Regions from separate parts of the Homo sapiens genome. Here regions 2 and 3 are each linked to region 1. The links are contacts of gene promoters, found by promoter capture Hi-C in blood cells and fetal thymus (Javierre and others, 2016). All regions are on one chromosome and are shown on one strand. The core of a region is centred on a gene start or on the middle of the fragment in contact, and the rest is flanking DNA. Distances in the headings are between cores, read along the strand shown. Region 1 holds the start of RPL41 (ribosomal protein L41). Region 2 holds the start of SP1 (Sp1 transcription factor). Region 3 holds the start of MAP3K12 (mitogen-activated protein kinase kinase kinase 12).

Region 1 (4,111 bases), core at 815-3,314:
CGCGCCACTGCACTCCAGCCTGGGTGACAGGAGTGAGATTCCATTCCGTATCAAAAACAAGCAAACAAAATTTCCCTCAAAGAGCTTATAAACTAGTTGGCAATCATCAGTTGAAATCTTGGTGGAACTGATACAAAATAATTCTGCTAGGATTTTTTTTGTTTCAAAAAAATTGTCATATATATTTGGGTGGTGACAATACTACAACTACTTAGAAGGAACCTAATTTTAAAAACGTTTTTCAGGGATTGAAAGTGAAATGCTATCCTGGAATATAATAAAGGGAAACCACAAAAAAAGAGGGATTGTAACAATCACATACAAAATGTTACAGTATTTTAAAACTGTAAGATGAAGTCTCTATAGGGAAAGGGTTCTTTTTCATCCCCCATTAACTCAAAAGTTTCCTGTAGCCAAATCTTAGGGGATCTGGTTGTTTTCCAGTGCTTCTCACCTGAGCATACAATCAAACTGGGAAGTTCTTTATCTTAACACCAAATGTCATACTTTCCCTAGATTTAGGTAATTTTCTCCCTATGTCCGTTGGTTCGCTCTTCACCCCTAGAGAATCACTGCATAGGTCACTGCAGCCTCGACTTCCTGGGCTCGAGATTCCCCCACCTCAGCCTCCCAAAGCGCTGGGATTACAGGCATGAGCCACCGTGCCCAGCCCGCTGACGTATTTTCTGAACAAATGATGCATTGTAGCCAGGAATCTCTAGTGATATTTTGCTTCGGGCATCGTGGGGGAAGACCATAATCAGCTATTTTATTCTTGAAATTTAGGAAAAATAATTGCTCTATCTTAAACAGTGAGAAAATATTTTTTGAAGTATGGCAGCTTTCCCGAATCCCCACTTTATATCTTCCTATGTTCTGAAATCTTAGGACCTTCGATGGTTCCGGAATCGAATCACCCTGCAGCAATTTATTTTAGAAAATAAGGCAAACCGGCTGGGCGCGGTGGTTCATGCTTGTAATCCCAGCACTTTGAGAGGCCGAGGCGGGCGGATCGCTTGAGCTCAGGAGTTCGAGACCAGCCTGGGCAACACAGCGAAACCTCGTCTCTACTAAAAATACAAAAATTAGCCAAGTGGCGCGCGCCTGTTGTCCCAGCTGCTCGGGAAGCTGAGGCGGGAGAATCGCTTGTATTCAGGAGGCGGAAATTGCGGTGAGCCGAGATCGCGTCACTGCACTCCAGCCTGGGTGACACAGTGAGATCCTGTCTCAAAAAAGAAAAAAAGAAAGAAAGAAAGAAAAGAAAGAAAGAAAGAAAGAAAGAAAGAAAGAAAGAAAGAAAGAAAGAAAGAAAGAAAGAAAAGAAGGCAAACCAGTAAAACAAGAATTTCTGTACAGTCCGCGCCTATCCATAGCAAAATGGAGGACTTCTCCAGGGAACTGCAACTCCCAAGAAGCAATGCGAGGGAAGGTGGCGGTCACTATTTTTTCCCCGTCTGCACCTCTAGGTCCAATATTGGAAATAGGTGCTGACGTTTAAATAACACAGCGTCCTCATACTAAATCTGGGGGGGAACTGGTAACTCGAAAACCAAATACTCGGTCTTCCGAAAGAACTAACTCAACCTACCCTTCTACAAGAGGGTCCGAAAACCACTGTTACGCCCATTGGGTAGCCCCGCCCTTGGGGGGGGCAAAGGGCGTGAAAGCGGAAGTGACGACACCCGGCGCTCCATTAAATAGCCGTAGACGGAACTTCGCCTTTCTCTCGGCCTTAGCGCCATTTTTTTGGGTGAGTGTTTTTTGGTTCCTGCGTTGGGATTCCGTGTACAATCCATAGACATCTGACCTCGGCACTTAGCATCATCACAGCAAACTAACTGTAGCCTTTCTCTCTTTCCCTGTAGAAACCTCTGCGCCATGAGAGCCAAGGTGAGCGGTTCCTGGTAGTAAGCTTGGGAGGTAGGAGTTGGCGAGTAGTAGCGAGGAGACGAAGGCAAGTCCGCCATACCTCCTGAACTACTGGGTTTCAAGGGTGCCCAAGAGCTGGTGGGAGAGAGAAGGTAGTTTGTGAGAGAGCTAGCGGTTAAGTGCTATGGGTAGAGAGGGTGGGCTTAGAAAAGGGTGGAATTCTGATCTTATGTTGGGAGGGTGTCCAAGTTACTGATGTAGTTGTTACGACCAATCTTTCATACTTCTTGGTTAAGAATCTGTCCGGTTCTAAAGAGTGCATTTCATATCCTTGCTAAGCCTACTAATAAGCTTCATCCCTTTTTTTTTTTTTTTTTTTTAATTATCTGCTGCTTGTGATCGGTTGCTAGTGGAGGAAGAAGCGAATGCGCAGGTACGTTGAGACTTTGCCAGCCCAGGAGGAGGGAAGTTCCTTGGACAAAACTTAGGAGAAACATTTGGTTTGGAAATCTTAAAAGATCTTTAGGAGAAAAACGTTTGAGTGTTTTCTCCCTGGAGCCAGGATTTAACAGAACAGAGAACGATAGAACCGTAGTGCTTGTTCATTTTACCACCTCATTCTTTATGTGGACGTTTGATTTAATGTGGGAGGGAAAGGCAACTCTGGTTTGAGGTGTATTCCATTCCTGTGTCTGCTTTTCAGGCTGAAGCGCAAAAGAAGAAAGATGAGGCAGAGGTCCAAGTAAACCGCTAGCTTGTTGCACCGTGGAGGCCACAGGAGCAGAAACATGGAATGCCAGACGCTGGGGATGCTGGTACAAGTTGTGGGACTGCATGCTACTGTCTAGAGCTTGTCTCAATGGATCTAGAACTTCATCGCCCTCTGATCGCCGATCACCTCTGAGACCCACCTTGCTCATAAACAAAATGCCCATGTTGGTCCTCTGCCCTGGACCTGTGACATTCTGGACTATTTCTGTGTTTATTTGTGGCCGAGTGTAACAACCATATAATAAATCACCTCTTCCGCTGTTTTAGCTGAAGAATTAAATCATCTTGTCTATTATGTTTTTTATGGTTCCATCGGGTGGGGGTTTTCTGTCATTAGAGTTTGCCCTGTCACTACCTGTGCTATGGAGGGTATCAAAGCTATAAAGGCAACAGCCCGGGTTACGTGGTGTGGTTTGCATCTCGCTGGAGTTGGATGGGATATGGTACGTCTCTGGAGGCAGGTTTTAGGTTTCGCGGGTTATTAGGGGCCAATGCTGGTACCGCCCCTTTCCAGGAGGGCTGCCTTGGCGACTACCGCTTAGACCATGTCGTGCCTTTGGGTTGGGTTGCCATAGTGACACGCAAAGCGTGCTGGGAACGCCCTGCGGCATGTCGCACGCGTACTTCATACACCATAGAGTATGGTTCCGGGTCTGCTGGCTAGAGCGTCACTTCTTCCGCAGGAAGCGGAAGAGCGATCGGGTAGGCGGCTCTTTGTCGAAGCTAGAGGACCGGCAGGCGGCAGCAGCAACTACGGCGGCGGCGGCAGGTGAGGGAGGCGGGAGACTTAGGTGGAGGCCGCGCCCGGAGGGGAGGAGTCGGGGCCGGCCCAGCGGCTGGGCTCGGCCAGGCCACAGAAGGCCCCCCAGAACCGAGCTGGCTCGTCCTCACACCCCAGGGCAGTGCCCCTTTTCTGAGTGACCCCGCATCGCGAGCAAACGCCAGCTTCGTGACGTCACAACCCTGCCCATCCCCTCAGCTTGATGACACCTGGAGCTCCAGCTCCCCGCTTCACTTCGCGCGCCCTTAGTGTCCCATTCACGTAGCCCACGGCTGAGCGCCGGCGGCACTGCACGGAACCTGCCAAGCTAGAAGACTTGCTGCGGGAAAACTCCTAGGACTTCTTTCGCAAACTCTAGGGTGTTGGGAAGCGTCACAATCACTGCCTTCAAGTCTAATCGGCCATCCCAATGCACTGTCAGACGCTGCCTTTTTGAGGTTCCTCACTAGCCATTACTAACTCCAGCCCTTGGCGGTGCTCTGACCCTCACATCCTCTTTCATCTTGAGGCAGGGCGCCCCGCACTCTTTGTTCACTCAGGGCTGGTTTTCCAACCCCTCCTCCCAGTCCCTCCGAATTAGTTTTACTCTTCTTACTGGCAACTTCTCCCTTGGACAGGTGAAGTTCAGTTTGAACCCTGAGGAAATCCTCACGTTCTCGAAGCTTTGCCGTTTTGTCAGATTTCTTGTGA
Region 2 (4,111 bases), core at 1,198-3,697, 2.7 Mb before region 1:
AATTAATTGTCATGTATTCTGATAAATTTTATAATAAAGGTATCTAAGAGGATGATGCCATTTGATCCGTCCTGGGAGTAGGCTTTTTTTTTTTTTTTTCAGGAGCTAGACAGTAAAAATTAAAAAGCATCTATATATTTACTTTTTTTTTTTTCTTTGAGATGGAGTTTCACTGTCGTTGCCCAGGCCCGAGTGCAATGGCACGATCTTGGCTCACTACAACTTCTGCCTCCTGGATTCAAGCGATTCTCCTGCCTCAGCCTCCCAAGTGGCTGGGATTACAGACATGTCCCACCATGCCTGGCTAGTTTTATATTTTTAGTAGAGACGGGGTTTCTCCATGTTGGTCAAGCTGGTCTTGAACTCCTGACCTCAGGTGATCCGCCTGCCTCGGCCTCCCAAAATGCTGGGATTACAGGCATGAGCCACCGCGCCCAGTCTATATATTTACTTATTTTGGAGCAAGGTCTTGCTTTGTTGTCCTGGCTGGAGTGCAGTGGCAGGATTTGAGCTCACTGCAGCCTCAACCTCCTGGGTTCAAGCGATTCTTCCACCCCAGCCTCCCGAGTAGCTGGGACTACTGGCGCACATCACCACGTCTGGCTAATTTTTGTTATTTTTTGTGGAGACGGGGTTTCACCATGTTGCCCAGGCTGGTCTTTAACTCCTGGGCTCAAGCGATCCGCCCGCCTCGGCCTCCCATAGTGCTGGGATTACAGGTCTGAGCCATTGCGCCCGGCGGCAGTTTAATTCCCTCAAGAATTTATAGAAAACTTTTGGTGGAACTATTCTGGGTTGGAATCTAACACTACAACTCATTTGCTTTGTGACCTTGGGTAAGTCACTTCTCAGCCTAAATGTCTTCACTTATAAAATACATAATATAGCTGATACTTAATAAAATCTTCCTTTTAAGGATGACATGGAATACTAACTGCCTCCCTGACTTAGGCACCTAACACGGTAGGCAGTCAGCAATCACTTCACCTTTTTACCTGTTTAAAGCAGCAGAGGCCTCAGTTCTTACCTTCAAAGGGCTTAAAATAGTTTAGGAGAATTCACATTTTAAAACATAAGAACATATAAGCAGGTGACAACATATAAGATACAAATACTGAAGGACATGACCTCATCGTGTCATTGACAAGCTATTAAGGCCGGCTCCACCAAAACACGGATAAAGAGGAGGCCAGAAATCCAGGTGCCTGCAGTAAAGTTTCTTAACCTTCGTGATTGCAAAAAGCTGGAGCTCAGCTATCTTGCTTTATGCATAGGCGGTATTTACTATTAAGGGGGAAAAAATGGAAGTGACTTATCCGCACTTTAGCCTCAAGGCTTGAAAAGTTAACCAGTCGTTTAAGTGGTTAGCGCCTTTGTCTGGGGGAACTTAATAAAATCGCGTTTTCTGGAGTCTCACGGAGACTCTGCATATTGGTCAGCTCAGTATTAACTTATTCGGTGAGTGCTGTCACCAGATCTCGTCCCGCCTGCATTCCCAGGGCTTGCAGCGACATTGAGGCATCTGCCCGCCTGTCCGACCACCCGGGAGGGGGGTAAGATTTGAGAGGTACTTTATAGGGGCAGTTAAATGAAGACGCAAACAAGTCCTAGTGTTGATGCGGAACTGCGCGCCGAATGCCTTGGCTCTGACACCTGTTGAGCTGCAGGACTCCGCTAAAGCGTCCCACCTAATGACTGTAACAACGTCCCCTGAGGAGGGCCAATATGGCGACGGTCTCCTCTTGGCATAGCCCTCTTCCCTCCCTCATGATGGGCAGCTCCAGTAACGCCCATTGGCTAACTAGGAGGCGGTGCCAGGCCTACTTCGTCCCCTCATTGGATTGAATAACTGAGGGAGCCGCCAATTCTCCTCTGCCACTCCAAGTTTCCGCCCTCAGTTAATTCGGCGTTTAATTGGCTTTTAGTTCACGTCAATATGCGTCCTTTCCTGTCTCTTTTCAGTCTAACTCCAATCATAACGTTCCTGGCTGCCCGCCTGATTTCTGATTGGTTTTAATCAGCTTCATCCTCTCCTATTCCTGCCTACTTCTTACCTCTCCGCCCACTAGGATTTTGCCCAAGCATATCCCGGATTCTGGTTGGCCGTTGTTCTGTCATTCCTATCAAAGCTTTGCCTATCCCTACGTCTCAGGGAGCCCGCCTGCCGGTTGACTGGTTTCCTTCCAAGCCAATCATCTCCAGCTCCCGCCCATCTTCACTTCCTGCATCCTTCATTGGCTTTTAACACTGAGAGGGCGGTCTTTTTAGGCGGACACCAGGCACGCAACTTAGTCTCACACGCCTTGGAGAGCAAGCGAGTCTTGCCATTGGATAATTCCACCGTCTTTCTTCTGCAAGTCCCTCCTTTCCCCCTCCCTCATTGGGCGGGGCAGCAGAGAAGGGGCGGGGCCTAGGTTGGGCTTGTGGCGCGCTGCTCCCTCCTCCTTACCCCCCCCTCCCTGTCCGGTCCGGGTTCGCTTGCCTCGTCAGCGTCCGCGTTTTTCCCGGCCCCCCCCAACCCCCCCGGACAGGACCCCCTTGAGCTTGTCCCTCAGCTGCCACCATGAGCGGTAAGGATGAGTCCACTCCAAGCTTAGGGGTGGGAGGCGAGTGAGGGGGCGCGCGCGAGGGCCGACCGGGCGATCCCCGCCGTGAAGCGGGGGCGGGCGGGAGGCGGCGGCGGCGGCGGCCTAGGTCCCGCCCGGGGCGGAGGGAAGGGAGGGAGACGGGGCAGTGGCGGGGCCTCCGAGGAGGAGGGGGATGGGCCGCCCGCCCCGGGGGAGGGGGCAGCGTGGCCTCGCCCGCCCCCTGCCCGCCCCGGCCACGGGGGACGGGCCTTACCCCCCACTACTCGGCCGCCCGCCTGAGGCTCCTCCCGCCGGGGGCTGGAGCCGCGGGGGCGGCCCGAGCAGCGAAGGCCCCGCCCGGGCCAACCGCCTGCCTGGTCCGCCCTCTGGTCGCCGCCTGCTCCAAGGCCCTCCTCCCCCCACTTTCCGTAGATTTCCCTTCCCCCCCGCCCCCCACCGTCCCGCCCTTTCCACGCCCCTCACCCCGAAACCGCCCTTTCCCTCAGGGCCCGCCCTCCGCCCCGAAACCTTCTGACTACTAACCTGTAGATCCCTTTAGTTCCTTAGCAGTATTCACAAATGTTTTTCTACTCACACTTTTTACTTCTTTTTCCCCTCTCGTTACTTTTCACACTTGGATTTTTGTTTGTCTTTTTTTTTTTTTTTTTTTTTGAGACGGAGTTTTCGCTCTTGTTACCCAGACTGGAATGCAATGGTGCGATCTCGGCTCACTGCAACCTCTGCCTCCCGGATTCAGGCGATTCTCCTGCCTCAGCCTCCGGGAGTAGCTGGAATTACAGGCATGCGCCACCACACCCGGCTAATTTTGTATTTTTAGTAGAGACAGGGTTTCTCCATGTTGGTCAGGCTGGTCTCAAAACTCCCGACCCCAGGTGATCTGCCTGCCTCCGCCTCCCAAAGTAATGGGATTACAGGCGTGACCACCGCGCCTGGCCTCTCCATCTCTTTTAAACTTAATTTTAGCAAGCTTTCCATGCACCCACATGTTGTTTTATGCCTTACCTGTCCTTTTCCTTTTTTTCCCTTAGGATACTTTTTCTTATTTAGAAACTCTCACCATGCCTACCGTCCTTCACATTTCCTATCCCCAAAGCACTTTTTGAATGTTTTCTTAGTTTAATTTTGTACAAGGGAGAATTAAGGCCCACTTTTGGCACATTGAACCTAGTTCATGTCCTGCATGCCCTGCAGCTCCCCTCTGCCCTCCAATCCATTTTCTTTATACTGGTGGCTTTCGCCTTCCTGTTAGTCATTGCTATTTCATCATAGCCTCCTTTTATCCTTCCTACTTCATTTCTTTTCTTCCCTCAAGTTTACGTTGTTTGTTTTTTAATTATTTTAGACCAAGATCACTCCATGGATGAAATGACAGCTGTGGTGAAAATTGAAAAAGGAGTTGGTGGCAATAATGGGGGCAATGGTAATGGTGGTGGTGCCTTTTCACAGGCTCGAAGTAGCAGCACAGGCAGTAGCAGCAGCACTGGAGGAGGAGGGCAGGTAAGTGATAATCATAGAGTGGGGAA
Region 3 (4,111 bases), core at 952-3,451, 2.6 Mb before region 1:
TGGAAAGTGCCTAACACACACTTGTAAGTTTTTTATGAATGTGATTCCCTTCCCTTCTTTCCCTTGTTCTCTCTCTCAAAGCAAGTGCCAGTAGGGAGGGTATGGGTGGAAAGGGAGGTGGAGAAACAAGAGGGAAAAAAAAGACCAAAGAATGAAGAAACCAAAGGGCAAGGGCTCTATCCTGAATGATCTTTAGCCTCCTCTGGAATCTGGTCACTGTCACAGTCTCCTCACCTTCTCCACGCACACATATGACCCCAGTCCTTCTGGGAGCCAATGAACCAGACAGACCAGTCTCTGTGGCCAGGCCCTCATGAAGCCCCTATGTCCCCTGCTGGCATCATCTCAACAGTATCCTCCTTCTTCCCAGCATCACCTCAGTCAACAGTGTGAGTGAATGCATGAGTGGCTGGCGTGAGGGGCAGACATTTCCACCTCACTGGAAGAAGCATGGCAGCTGGGGGTCCCAGGGCTTGACTGGTGTAGGGCTGAGGACCTGAATGTAGGGGTGATCTCCAGTCCACCCTAGCAAGGACTTCTTACAGGGTTGATTCCTTCTTTCTCTCCAGATCCAGGCAGGGGAGAGGGAGGACTGTGCATTACGAGAGTCCGGGCTGTGAGTGGTAGAACCAAGAGTCCTCTTCCTAGAAAAGCCTGATCCTACCACAGTGTCACCACGAGGGGAAAAGCAATTGGTTTTTAGAAGGGTTCTGCCCTCTTCAGCTATAAGGAAGCCTAGGAAATCCTGAGCCATGTCTAACTTCTTGCCTCCTCTGTCCATAACTGGGATGGATATTTAGCTGGTGTCTCCATGTTGAGAGCTGGGGTTTTCCTAACATTACCCCAGTTGACAATGGGAGTGAGTGGATGAATGATACGCTTGAGGGGACACACTTTTTTTCACCTGTAAGTGTGAGATAGGAGGGAGTGGGGCCCTAAAGCTCAGAGAAACTTCAGTGTCTGGACAGGAAGGCTCAGGGGGCACTTGAGTCCTATCCTTCCTAAATCCTTTCTGTTAGCCTTAGCTTGGTAGGACCCTCTGGCTGAAACTCAGAGCTCCTAGAGCAATGGAGTCCACCTTGAGAACTGCAAGGGAAATGTGTTTAGAGGGATGCACTGACTGTGGCTTGAGACGACTCTGGGTGGGGTGAGGAGACCTCATGTGCACTCCCTTCTGATTGGAGGCCACTCACCTACGCTCCTCTGAAAAAGGCAGCAGATGAGCATCTACAAGGTAGGACTCCTCCCTTAATTCTAAGGGACACCTCACTGTTTCCTCCCACTGTCTACAGAGCCTTGACTCTTCCCTCCTCTCAGTCAAGGCCTTGGTTACCAGCAAGTCTCAACTCTTGTTTATTTTTAAGCCAATGAGTTTGAGGAGTGTTTGTGGGAAAGGGAGGAGGTTTTTGGAGGGCCTGACTGGGGGAGATGGGTTAGGGGAGCCAGAGGAGATGGAGAGAAAGAGGAGGGAGAAACCCACACGTGAATGGGGGAGGGGAGGATGCAACAGCTGGATGGAGGTGAATGCCACAGCTGGAGGTGAATGCCACAGCTGGAGGGGATTAGGAGGATCACAGCTTGAAGGGGAGGGGGACCAACGCCTGGGCATGCAGGAACAGGTGCTCTCTGACTAATCTTCAGGTCCAGCCTGCTGTGTGTGTGTGTGTGTGTGTGTGTGTGTGTGTGTGTGTGTGTGTGTGTGTGTGTGTGTGTGTGTGTGTGTGTGTGTGTGTGTGTGTGTGTGTGTGGAGATGGTGGGTATATCAGTCCTTGCCCTTCCTTTCCTTCCCTAGAGGGGGCCAAAACTCTCCCTCCTCCTTCCCTCTCTCTCTTCCTGAGGATGAGTGGGAGGAGATGTTCTCTTGCCCTCTGTCCTTTAAGTCTGTCCCCCAATCATCCTCCACCCCACCCCAATACGGTCCTTTCCAGCTCTGGAGGCCCTTCGTCTCCAAGCTGGGCCGCGGCATCCCTCCGCTCCATTCCCTTCCTTCCCAGCCCCACAGGCGTCGGGTCCAGGTCCCCAGTTCCTCCATCCCCACAGCCTCAGCATCCCCACGCCATCACCCCGCACCAGGCCACATCTGCATCCCGACCCTCCCTCCACGCCCGGATCCCAGGACCCAGACCCATCCCTGCCCCCCACCCCCCCACAACTCGGCCAGGCTCTCACCTCGGGGGCTCCGCGGCCGCAGCACAAAAGGCGGCGCTGCTGCAGCTCCGCTCCGGATGCTGCTCCCGCCTCCTCCTCCTTCTCCTCCTCCTTCCCTCCTCCCCCCGCTGCCCTCCACCGGACCCGGGGCGCTGTCACAGGCGATGCTCGTGCGGTGTCCGGATGCACGGGTGTCAGCTTCAGCTTTCTGCCCCCACCCCCCGACCCCTAGCCCCGTCCCTGCTCGGCTTGAACTCCCGCTCCTTCCAGGGCCCCCGCCCCTGGCCCCCCGGGACGGACACGCCCTGAGCGGGGGATGCTGCGATGGAGCCGCCGGCCTCTTAAAGGAGCCCGCTGCTGCCATCCGGCGCGCTCCAGGCTCGTACCTGGCCCGCCTGGGCCCCGCGCCTCCCTGCTGGCGGTGTCCTATGGAGGTCCCACCTCAGGCCTCAGGCTGATTCCACAGGAACCCCCTATGACCCGTCTTATAGACTCCTTTCTACATCGGAGAGAGCAGCCCCTCAGTTGGGATCCCTAGCGCTCTGGCATTGCTCCCCCTATCATACCGATCTTGCCAGCTCTCCTTCCCTTGATTGTCACCACTCACTCCAATTTCACCCACTTGGAATTCACTCGGCTCTAGGCCCCATCCTCCTCCAGTGTTCCTGGATGACCCCTCATTATCATTTCAAGATTCCTCTGGACCTCCAACCCCGGCTCAGAGTAAGACATCTTTCTTGACCCCTTCTCAGAACACTCATTAGAACCTTTTTTTTTTTTAATGTGGTCTCTCCCTTTCTCTCTCCAAGGTCACAAGATTTCCCTCAGCCCAGTGGTTGTGCAACTTTGGGGGAGGAGGCAATGGGGCTCTAGGACTAAACAATGCGCGTCTGCTCAACACCCAGATCAGTTGATTAATCTTAGGCGGCCAAAATTCACTTTTGCTCTCTTCAGCTGAGAGACCCAAGACTCATGGAAGAGGGAACAAGACCACCAAGGTGCCTAGTCCTTCTAATCCTGTCGTCCCACATTACAGCCTGATTATCAGGCCCCAGAGGTTTCCTCGCCAGTTAAAGAGAGGTTCACTAGAGCGGTTCTAAAAAGGTTTCACAAAAGAAGCAACACCTGAAGGGAGGTGAAGGACGACCTAGGAAAAGGAAGCAAGTTCTGTGTCACGGAGGCCCAAGGGCAAGGGGCTTAGGCTGTGGGTTGAGGGGACTGTCTGAGACGGACTTAAACCTGCACCAGCTCCAGAGCCCTGCGGAAACAGAGATCGGTCCCCTCCGGCGTCTAGGTAAGGCCCACCCTCCCAGACCGCAAAGAGCCAGGATCCGACGGCAGCCTCTCCGGACCAATCACAACCTTCCTTCATCAAGGAGGCGGGGTCGGGGGGGGCTGACTTTTCCTTGTCTCCGCCCCTTTAGTCGAAGTAACCAATCTCAGTGCACCTAGGGGAAGTAATCGCAATGGGAGTAACCAATGACGCCATGAAGCTTCTCGTGCGTGCTTGACCCTGCCTCTCCAGCTGCGACACAGATGGCGCGCGGGCTCTTGGGTTCTGTAGTTTTCTCGCGATCCAAAAGGCTCCGTGCCCAAGTGAGTCCTTACCGCCTCCCTACCCAGCGGCTTCCCCTCCGCTAGTACGCATGTCCACAGCTTCACGGACCGGGAGAGAGGGGGCGCGGAAGGAAGGAGGCGGGACGGTATTACAAACAAAAAAATACGGCCTTCTCGAGAAGCGACGGCGGAGGGCCCGCTCCTCCCAGAAGGCGGTGCAGCCTGCCCGGGCGAGCCACGCACGCAGAGGGTTGTGGGGCGGATAGCTCCCCTCCAGATGGAGGCTCACGAAGTAGGGTGGGCGGGGGACTCCATATCCCAGCGTGCCCCGCGGCGGGCCCTACCGGCCGCGACTCCGGGCTTGGCCCCGGCCCTAGCTCGTCGGCTGTGTATTGGGGCGCGTGG

What was found. Contacts are between HindIII fragments. The CHiCAGO score rates a contact against its expected background, and 5 or more counts as called.
Region 2: the fragment with the promoter of SP1 here is called in contact with a fragment that was not itself captured in region 1 in 2 of 17 cell types (total B cells and total CD4 T cells); the score reaches 5.3 in total B cells.
Region 3: the fragment with the promoter of MAP3K12 here is called in contact with a fragment that was not itself captured in region 1 in 2 of 17 cell types (fetal thymus and total B cells); the score reaches 8.4 in fetal thymus.

What each region holds. Positions count from the first base shown.
Region 1 is chr12:56,114,910-56,119,020 of GRCh38, forward strand. RPL41 (ribosomal protein L41) reads left to right here and starts at 1,724. Exons shown (of 3, transcript NM_001035267.2): 1 at 1,724-1,890; 2 at 2,280-2,302; 3 at 2,573-3,058. The coding sequence starts at 1,879. The coding sequence ends at 2,615. ZC3H10 (zinc finger CCCH-type containing 10) reads left to right here and starts at 3,357. Exons shown (of 3, transcript NM_032786.3): 1 at 3,357-3,409. RefSeq lists an enhancer at 1,316-1,365 and a silencer at 3,032-3,081. The HindIII fragment of the contact is 308 bases long and covers 1,911-2,218 here.
Region 2 is chr12:53,377,729-53,381,839 of GRCh38, forward strand. SP1 (Sp1 transcription factor) reads left to right here and starts at 2,448. Exons shown (of 6, transcript NM_138473.3): 1 at 2,448-2,570; 2 at 3,931-4,085. The coding sequence starts at 2,564. RefSeq lists enhancers at 1,541-2,041, 1,945-2,244, 2,077-2,371, 3,222-3,980 and a silencer at 2,485-3,114. The HindIII fragment of the contact is 463 bases long and covers 2,128-2,590 here.
Region 3 is chr12:53,497,257-53,501,367 of GRCh38, forward strand. It overlaps MAP3K12 (mitogen-activated protein kinase kinase kinase 12), which reads right to left and starts at 2,202. Exons shown (of 14, transcript NM_001193511.2): 1 at 2,171-2,202. It overlaps TARBP2 (TARBP2 subunit of RISC loading complex), which reads left to right and starts at 4,027. Exons shown (of 9, transcript NM_134323.2): 1 at 4,027-4,111. RefSeq lists a silencer at 2,319-2,568 and an enhancer at 3,662-3,961. The HindIII fragment of the contact is 6,087 bases long and covers 1-3,640 here.